Linked DNA regions of Homo sapiens: region 2 is linked to region 1. The links are contacts of gene promoters, found by promoter capture Hi-C in blood cells and fetal thymus (Javierre and others, 2016). All regions are on one chromosome and are shown on one strand. Each heading gives the region's core, a stretch centred on a gene start or on the middle of the fragment in contact. The rest is flanking DNA. Distances are from core to core; before and after follow the strand shown.

Region 1 (4,325 bases), core at 356-2,855:
CCCCATAAAGGAATGGGGAATTCCAACTTTTGGGTGTTGAGGGCCAGTCTGAGGCTGGTGTCCCTGGACTCTGGTGCCTGGTATTTATGGAATGAAGGAGGGCCAAGCACTGAGCCCCGAGGCCTGGCCTCAGGGAAGGAATTAACTATGAAGAAGGCATTTGGAGGCGAGGCTCACTCTGGTGGGTCTTTTCTGTCAAGAGGAGATGAGACCACAAACATGATTCCCTCTCTGGCTCAGCAACACCCTGGTCCATACAGCACAGGGTGCTGGTTCTTCTGGAAGACCGTGGGGCTCAGGCAAGAGAAGACACCCAACTGGGCTTCATTCGACCAGTCCAGCTTCCTGCCATATGCCGAGGGCAAAAAAGGGTTAAATTCCCACTCAGTACACAGATGTAAGAGGAGATGGGGAAGTGAACAGCCAGTTGATCATTCACTCAATCATGCTAGCTTGCTTTTTGTATTTAATGCTACATTTTAAATTTATTTATTTATTTATTTGAGACAGAGTCTCGCTTTGTTGCCCAGGCTGGAGTGCAGTGGTGCGATCTTGGCTCACTGCAACCTCCACCTCCCAGGTTGAAGTGATTCTCATGCCTCAGCCTCCCGAGTAGCTGGGACTACGGGCGTGCACCACCACGCCCAGCTAATTTATTATTATTATTTTTTAGTAGAGATGGGGTTCACTATGTTGGCCAGGCTGGTCTGAAATCCTGACCTCAGGTAATCTGTCTGCCTCACCCTCCCAAAGTGCTGGGATTACAGGCGTGAGCCACCGCACCCACTAATTCTACATTTTTAATTTCTCAAGAAACATTGTGTCTCTGATTGTTTTATTCTCTTGAACATTTTTCAAGATGGAATTTTGCTTTGCTTACTTTCTTCTTTTTCATAGCCCCACTTCTCCCAAATCCATAACACACCTACCTCAAAGTATCACAGGAAAGAAAGCCTGTGAAGCTGCTAGCCACAGCCTGTCACAAGTAAGTCCTCAATTTAGCTAACAATAACAATGGCATTACTATTACTTTTACAAAGTGTTTTCCCTGACACCCTCTGGAAGTCCTCCCAGGAAAGCGGATCCACAGCGCTCCTAATTTTAGGGACCCTGAGGGGAGCCAGCTACATTTCCAAATGGTGGGGAAGGGTGGAGGGTGGGCGAAACGTCGTAGGGAGAGTTGAATAGAAGGAGACAGATGGTGCCTGTGTTGGGGGAAGGGACCAGAGATCCTGGAAAACTTATGTTTCCCAATTCGCAAGAATGTTTCCATTTAACCACTTCTTGCCTGACTCCTGATTCTACACCACAGAAAAGCAGGGAGTTTTTAAGATTTGGGGCCACCTGTGCCGAGAGCCTGGCTACTCCGGGTGGAGAGAGACAGGAGCGTTTTAAGTACAGGCAGAGCGGTTTTTGGCCCAGCCCCCTAGGTCTGGGACGCAGGTGAGGGGCGGTCTCTCCTTCCCCTGGCAGGGGCAGCGTAAGGGTGGCCGGCGGCTGGGACTGTCCCACGAGGGGGCGCGTCTCGGGCCCTAGGACCCGCCCTCGAGGCGCTGCGCGCGGGGAGGGGACCCGGGAACCCAGGCGCCCGGCGCTCCGCCTCCCGTTTCCGGGGCAGCGCGGTTACCTGCACCGCCCGAGCCGCACCTGGCGGAGGCAGAAGTCACAAACCCGGCGAGCTCAGAGCGGTGGAGCGGAGAGGAGGGACGGCACCCGGCTGCAGGGAGGAGGGAGGCGGCAGCGGCAGCGGCGGCGTGGAGGGCGCAGCGCGCCGCGCGGCGGAGGAGGGCAGACGGCGGCGGCGGCGGCGCTCGGCTCGCTCTGCCCGGCCGGCTGGGCGCGCACCCGGGCTCGCACCGCGCCGCTGCGGACGCACATGGCAGCGTGAGAGGCCGGCGGCGGGAGGAGCGGGCGGCGCCGGGTCGGGGCTGCAGGGCCGCATGGACAGCGGCGCCACCCCGGCCGGCCCCTACTAGGGCCCCCCATCTGCGGGCGCCACCCCCCGGATCATGGTGCCTCGGCGGCCGCCCGGGCTAAGAGCGGCCGGCTGGAGCCGCTGAGCCCCCGCTGCGGCCGGGAGCTGCATGGGGGAGCGCCGGCAGCGCTTGGGAAGATGCCCCGGCCGGAGCTGCCCCTGCCGGAGGGCTGGGAGGAGGCGCGCGACTTCGACGGCAAGGTCTACTACATAGACCACACGAACCGCACCACCAGCTGGATCGACCCGCGGGACAGGTAGGACCCTGGAACCCTCCTCCGTGCCCCCACACCCCCGCCTGGGCCCCCACCTGCCCCTGGAGCCGCCGGCCGGGACTGGGAGGGGGCAGGGGAGCTCTGCGTGCCTCTTGAGCTCTCTTCAGTTCGCCACCCCCTGCTCCCCCCAACCTTCTGGAGCGCTGCTCCCGCCTCAGTGGGCCACCGAGAGGAGGCGCCTGCCGGGGAGCTGGCCCAGGCTGCCCCACCGCCATCCCCAGTTGGAGGACTTAGGCCCCAGCCGGCACCTGCCCGGAGTTTTGACCTTAAGCTCTAGCCCCGCCCGCCCCCTTTAGGAAGAGAGGTCGGGCGGGGGCGGGGGTTGGGGGAGCGACCTAGCCGGGTGAAGCCGGGTCTTCCCGGGGAGGCTTCCACCCAGCGTGGGGGGTGGGCGGATGGGGATGGGGAAGTGTCCGGTTAGAGGGGGTGGTCAAGACCCCAGGATTCCGTGGGAGACCACTGGAGAGAGGGCACTCGGCGCAGAGGAAGGCAACCTGAGGTGTGCTTTTTGACAGGTGCCTTGGAAGCTGCTGAGAACAGCACAGGGGCAGCCAGGGGGCCCTGGAACCCGAGGGTGGGGAGGAAGTGAAGAAGCGGGGGAGGGCAGATGAGGGAGACTGGTTATCCAGGAATCTGGCAGCAACTTGGAAGCTGTTAGGATGGAGATGGAGGTGAGAGGCCTCCCGGAAAGCCTTGCCCCTCGCCTCTTTCTCCTCTCTTTCTTCCCTGATCGGGGAAGGGGGCGGCGAGGCTCCTCAGCCCTGCACCAGCGGGACCTGACCTTGGTGGGTACCAGGCCGCTGTAGGTTGAGATAATGTGCAGAGGCAGATGGAGCCTGAGATAGCTCGGTGTGGCTCTTACCTCTCCAGACTTTCTCCTGGTTGTTTGGCATTTCTTTGCTCACATGCTGCACACACACACATACATTCACCCTCTCCATGTATGTCCTAGAGTCCCCGGACCACGATGTTGTTGACACGGTCTGTGGGCAGAGTGTCTTGGGGAATGCGGACTTTAAACCTTGTCTGTGACCTTGGGGGTCAGGTCCCTGTAAAGCAACCAAGGTGAATTTCTTGGACTCTTCATCTTGTGTGGTGGGGGTGGAGGTGTCCCAGAAGTGTATGTAGCAAGATGTGGGTCAAAAAAAGAATATAAGCGGAAAGAAAATGAGAGTTGAGATTCTCGGTAGTTTCTGGGAGCACTTACTTTCATTCATTCATTCATTCGTTCATTCAGCGCTTCCTGGATGCCTCCTCTACACTCAGCACCATGCTGAATGTCTCATGAATGTAATCTGGAAGGTAAATATTTAGTGCTAGAGAGCATCTCTTAGGCAAGCTGCTTCAACCTCTGAGCCTCAGTTTCCCTGTTTGTCAGATGGGGGAGCCCACCATTTCCCTGAATTTAAAAAGTTTGCTTGGAAGGGAATATTGGGATGCTTAAAACTTGGAAGGGACGTACATCAGCGCCCAACTCCCATTTGAAACATAAGAGAAAATTTGAAGCCCAGAGGTGTGATTTGCTCAAGTATTTTGATTTTTCTGCCATTCTGCGTACCAGTTCTTCACCAGCTCTGAAGTTCTAACCTGCAAACTTGTCACCCTGACACACTGCTTCCCCACCCTTACTCGGGTCAGTTGCCAGCTCTGCTACTGTGTTGGTGAACTTGGCAGCACCTTTTCTCTTGTCCTTTTCTCAGAACAGACACAAGTTCAAACATATGTGACCTGCCCCAATTTAGGTCCCTGTAGTTTACGGAGGCCTGTGTGCTGTTAGCAGGTGGACGTCCTGTTGGAGGGAAAGGACCGCCCCTGCCAACACTGATAATCATGCATCTGGGGACTTCTAATACAGCAATAGGAGGCCCCTCTCAACAGTAATTCTTTACCCTTGGAAAAGGGTAAGTAAGTAGCTTCTATGAAGAACTGATTGGCTGGAGCACAATCTCCCAAATTTTAGTGTTACATGGACCACCTCCATGATTTTTTTTTGCTATATCCACCTGTGCTATTGCTTACTTACTCCTTGACTTTAGATCAACTCACTTTAAAAATATGTGTACCATTTTCACAAA
Region 2 (4,969 bases), core at 172-2,671, 4.7 Mb before region 1:
TAGCTCCAAGGTCCTAACAGGGACTTTATCCTGCCTGTGATAGGAGCCTTCCTTTTGCACCTGAGAGGAGCACAGAGCTCCATGCTGGACAGATGGGAGCCAGGGAAGAAAGACTCTGCTACGTGCAAAAGAGGAGAGGAATCCAAAGGGAGAGAAAATGATCAGGGTCTGAGGATGAACAGCCAGGCTGCTTTTGGTTGGTTCCTAGGGAGCTTGACAGTCTAGGTTAAGAGGTAAACTTGCTTTTTGTTCTGTGTGTGTGACACAGAGTCTCGCTCTGTCGCCCAGGCTGGAGTGCAGTGGCGCTATCTCCGCTCGCTGCAACCTCTACTTTCACCTCCCGGGTTCAGGTGATTCTCCTGCTTCAGCCTCCCTAGTAACTGGGATTACAGTCGCCCGCCACCATACCTGGCTAATTTTTGTATTTTTAGTAGACCCAGGGTTTCACCATGTTGACCAGGTTGGTCTTGAACTCCTGACCTCAGGTGATCCACCCACCTCGGCCTCCCAAAGTGCTGGGATTACAGGCATGAGCCACTGCACCCGGCCTGAATTGATCTTTCTTTTTCTTGTTATTGTTGTTTTTAGATGGAGTCTTGCTCTGTTGCCCAGGCTGGAGTGCAGTGGTGTGATCTCCGCTCACTGCAACCTCTGCTTCCTGGGTTCAAGTAATTCTCTTGCCTCAGCCTCTGGAGTAGCTGGGATTACAGGAATGCGCTATCACACCCAGCTAATTTTTTTAGTTTTAGTAGAGATGGGGTTTCACCATGTTGGTCAGGCTGGTCTTGAACTCCTGACCTCAAGTGACCCGCCTGCCTCGGCCTCCCAAAGTGGTGGGATTATAAGTGTGAGCCACTGTGCCCAGATGTTTTTTTGTTTGCTTGTTGGTTTTTTGTTTGTTGGTTTTTTTTCTTTTGATGGAGTCTCGCTCTGTCGCCAGGCTGGAGTGTGGTGGTGTGGTCTTGGCTCACTGCAATCTCCGCCTCCCAGGTTCAAGCAATTCTCCTGCCTCAGCCTCCCAAGTAGCTGGGACTACAGGTGTGCGCCACCACACCCAGTTAATTTTTGTATTTTTAGTAGAGGCAGAGTTTCACCTTGTTGGCCAGGATGGTCTTGATCTCTTGACCTCGTGATCTGCCTGCCTCAGCCTCCCAAAGTGTTGGGATTACAGGCGTGAGCCACTGTGCCCGGCCAGACTTGTTTTTTTAAAGAATCTGTTTTCTAAAAATAATTAGTCTTAAATTTACTCTTACTCTCTCTAAAGGGTAGGTGACATAAATATGGGCAGTAAATGTAGTCCTGTGGCCCAATTGTGAGCTTTGGGGTGGGGCAGTCTTTTTTCTAGAACTTCATTGAGCTCCTTTCTAGTTATGAAATTAATACATATCTAATGCAGACACCTCTAAAATCACCGCTGAGTGCAAAGATATGTAATCACACCAAATTAATCCGATGATAGTTACTGAGTGTATATCAGTGTGGGATTTCAGATTATTAAATAAACAGAACCAAACTCCGCATTTTCTACCTGCCATGTTCACCTAATATACAGTCACTATTTTTCTACCTTAAACTATATTCTGTGATCTGATTTTTTAAAATGACTGAATAGCTTCTTATTGTATCGATGTTGCGGTTTATATCTGTGGTCATTGATGATAGAATGTAGTAGTATCCTTTGATGGTTTCCAACAAGATTTCTTTATCTTATACCAGATGGCATTTCCTAGCTCTTGCCTGACAATTAAGGGATAATGTTCTGATTATAGTAGTTGTTACATTTTCCTCCCTCCAGACCAATTAAGTTCTCATTTCATATTTAGGGGCTCGCTGAAAGCAAATGCAGCAATCCCCAACCCCTTGTATTCTATTCATTAATTCTTGTCTTTGGCAAATATTGAAGAACTGGAGGTGATTGAGACACAAACCTTGTCTTCCATGGGTTTTATTCTGATGGAGCCCATGGGCAATATACAAATAAAAATAAATATATAATACAATAGCAAGTGGAGATAAGAATCAGTTAAATAGGTCTAGACCTATTACTATTAACTGGAAGGATATTCGTTATATTACAAACGTTATAACTGTCAGCAAAATCTGGGTCACAGGCTGAGGTCACGCATGGTAGACCAAGGGGAGGAGCTTGAGGGCCCCTCTTCACCTTCAATACCTGCACGCATCTCCATCAGTCACTGATGGTCTTTCTGGTTTCCTCTTTTATCTACCACATGAAAAGACTATCTGATTATAATTTGATGCCTGATAATTTCTAAGTTAGGTGGAGAACATCAGGCTTCCTTTCTAAAGGAGTCATTTTGTTTACAATGGCACTGCCTTTGCCTTGGTGCTGATCGTTTTTGTGGTTTTTCTTTTGTTGTAATCTTATCCTTTCCTTTCCTTTTTTTTTTTTTTTAATCGATGAAGGGTTTATATCGGGACGGGCAGTGTTGAGTATTTAGTTTCTTTTTTCAAATTGAGCACAATGATATTTATTACGCATTTCTGGTTTCAAGCTAATCAATAAAGGAGGCCAGCAAAAGCCCGCCCTTCCGGAGGCTCGGGCTCACTGAATGTGTGTGGCAAAAGCTGGAATTTTATCTCTTAAGAAAAACGGATGGATCCCACTGCTATCTGACTGCTCTGTCAGACAACAGATGAAGAGAAACCCCTCCAAAAAGTTGTTATGGTTTCTCACTGGACTTTCAGATGTCTGTTCACAGATGAGCTTCTAATTAACCAGAAATCTGTCTCCCACGAGGTCAATAAAAATCTGACACCTTTTCAGAAGTACATTTTGGAGTGACTTTCTGGTCATTTTAGAGAGCATTAAAACATAAAAGCATTTCGCTTTCCAATGGAAGTTCTTTTCTATTAGTACCAAAGATGAAATCTCCATGATCCTTTATATGTTTCTAAGCAGCATAGCTAAACATCTCAAAGAATTTTCTCATTATTTTTCTGTAATTCAAACCTATGCAAGCTTAAAGGGAACAATAATGATACCTAGGATTGGCTTGTGTAGACCCAGATGGCTTTTGCATATTTTCATTACACATTTATTTAGTAATCAGAAGAAGTTATTTTGATTCTTATATAACCAGTTCCTCAGCCAGAGTAAAGTCAGAATAAAGTGAACTATCAGGCGTTATGAATATACCCATATTAGAGGAAAATATCCTTTCAGCCCTATCTTTATGGAAAAGGACTTAGGAAGTGCAAGTTCAAAACTTGGTAAGTCTGACCACTGTAGAATTTATTTCCTTAGTGTGGCATGTGTAAATTTTTTTGTGGGTTAAAAAAAAAAGATTGGATCAATTCTGAGGGATTTTATGTGTGGAGTCTTTCTGGAAGAGGTCTTTGTAAGTATAAAAATCTTTCTAGGTAATGTCCTTGAAATGGGTAAGGAGGGAAATGATAAACTGAGATGAGACCTTTCAGAAGTGCTAACAGATCCTCAGACCTGACCTGACCATCCATATTAAAACAGGACCGTGGTCTCCATTCAGGAGCTTTTTGATACCTTTTGATCTAGATATGTGAGATGTCTGGAGTCAAACCTGGAGGGTTTCCACAGGATAGTGTGGCTGTTTGGGTTCCCAGAAGCTTCCTTTAGCAGGTTAAGCAAGAAGTATATTCTTTAACAACCAAACCTCCTGTTCCTTAGCGTTAATCCCCAGCCACGTTAAACACATGTTTCCAAACTTTGTATTTAATGCATATCTAAAGACCAGTTTTGTCAAGGATTTACTCTGTCTTCCTTGTGCTCTTTGAGAAACTTAGGCAAGTCCACACATATTTTTTATAGCCTGCCTCACTCTTTACTATATATGTCAAATGTTTCAGCCTTCGTAAGGGAACAACTGTGCTCTCTCTGGATATAAATGTTACTGCTGTCAGTGAACTCAAGTCTATTTGTTCAGTTATGGAATTTTCTCTGAGGTTGCTCACACCTGTAATGCCAACATTTTGGGCAGCTGAGGCAGGAGGATCACTTGAGCCCAGGAGTTTGAGATCAGCCTGGCTAATATAGGGAGACCTTTTCTCTACAAAAATTAAAAGAATTAGTTGGAAATGGTGGCAGGAGGATCCCTTGAGCCAAGGCCAAGGAGGTTGAGGCTGCAGTGAGCTATGATTGTGCCACTGTGCTTTAGCCTAGGCAACAGAGACCTTGTCTCAAAAATAGAAAAAAAAAAAAAAGAAAAGAAAAAAAGAAAAAGAAAAAAAAGAAGGAAAAGAAAGAACTCTCTCTGGATGCCTAGAATTGAATATTTATGTCCAGTCAGTTATTGTTCCTTTAGCTTCCAGGTGAAACTAGTAGGGGCAGGAGATAAAAATTTAGTTTTTCCTAATAATAATAATAATAATAATAATAATAATAATAATCATCATCATCATCTCATGGATACTCATTGTAGAAAACAGGAAAAAAATTAAAAAGCAAATCACACACACGTCACACACACACACACACACACACACACACAAACTCATGATTTTATCATGCAGAAATAGTCATTATTAACATTTTGGCTTACTTTCCTCTGGTCTTTGTTTTAGTAATAATATCGATAGAGCATTTGCCGTGTACTGAGTACTTTGCACCCATTGAGAGATAGGTAGTGTTATCCTAAGTTCCTAGAAACCACTATGTCACATACAGACTAGAGGGCAATGTACATTATGTTCTTGCACATCTACACACCATAATCAACAGACACATATACAAACATGCATGCATATTGGGTTCCTGTGTATCGGTTTCTCTGTACCTTATTTTACTCAACATGCTGTCATAAACATTTAACCATGAAAATAGATAATCTTTGAACATACCTTTTGTTAAGGCATACTATTTCAAGCTGTGGATATATCACAATCTACTTAGTCACTTCCCAGTTGTTTGCTTTTTGGATTGTTGCTGCTGTTTTCAGCACACTTGTTTATTCTACCAAATCAGAACCAAAAT

The links. Contacts are between HindIII fragments. The CHiCAGO score rates a contact against its expected background, and 5 or more counts as called.
Region 2: a contact is called between a fragment that was not itself captured here and the fragment with the promoter of WWC1 in region 1, in 1 of 17 cell types (activated CD4 T cells). The highest score is 6.3, in activated CD4 T cells.

The regions. Positions count from the first base shown.
Region 1 is chr5:168,290,040-168,294,364 of GRCh38, forward strand. It overlaps WWC1 (WW and C2 domain containing 1), which reads left to right and starts at 1,606. Exons shown (of 23, transcript NM_015238.3): 1 at 1,606-2,232. The coding sequence starts at 2,114. RefSeq lists an enhancer at 155-234 and silencers at 1,379-1,898, 1,999-2,418. The HindIII fragment of the contact is 16,463 bases long and covers 1-4,325 here.
Region 2 is chr5:163,546,692-163,551,660 of GRCh38, forward strand. No RefSeq gene overlaps it. Among named protein-coding and RNA genes, the nearest start is that of MAT2B, 44 kb to the left of the region's middle. The HindIII fragment of the contact is 3,119 bases long and covers 1-2,981 here.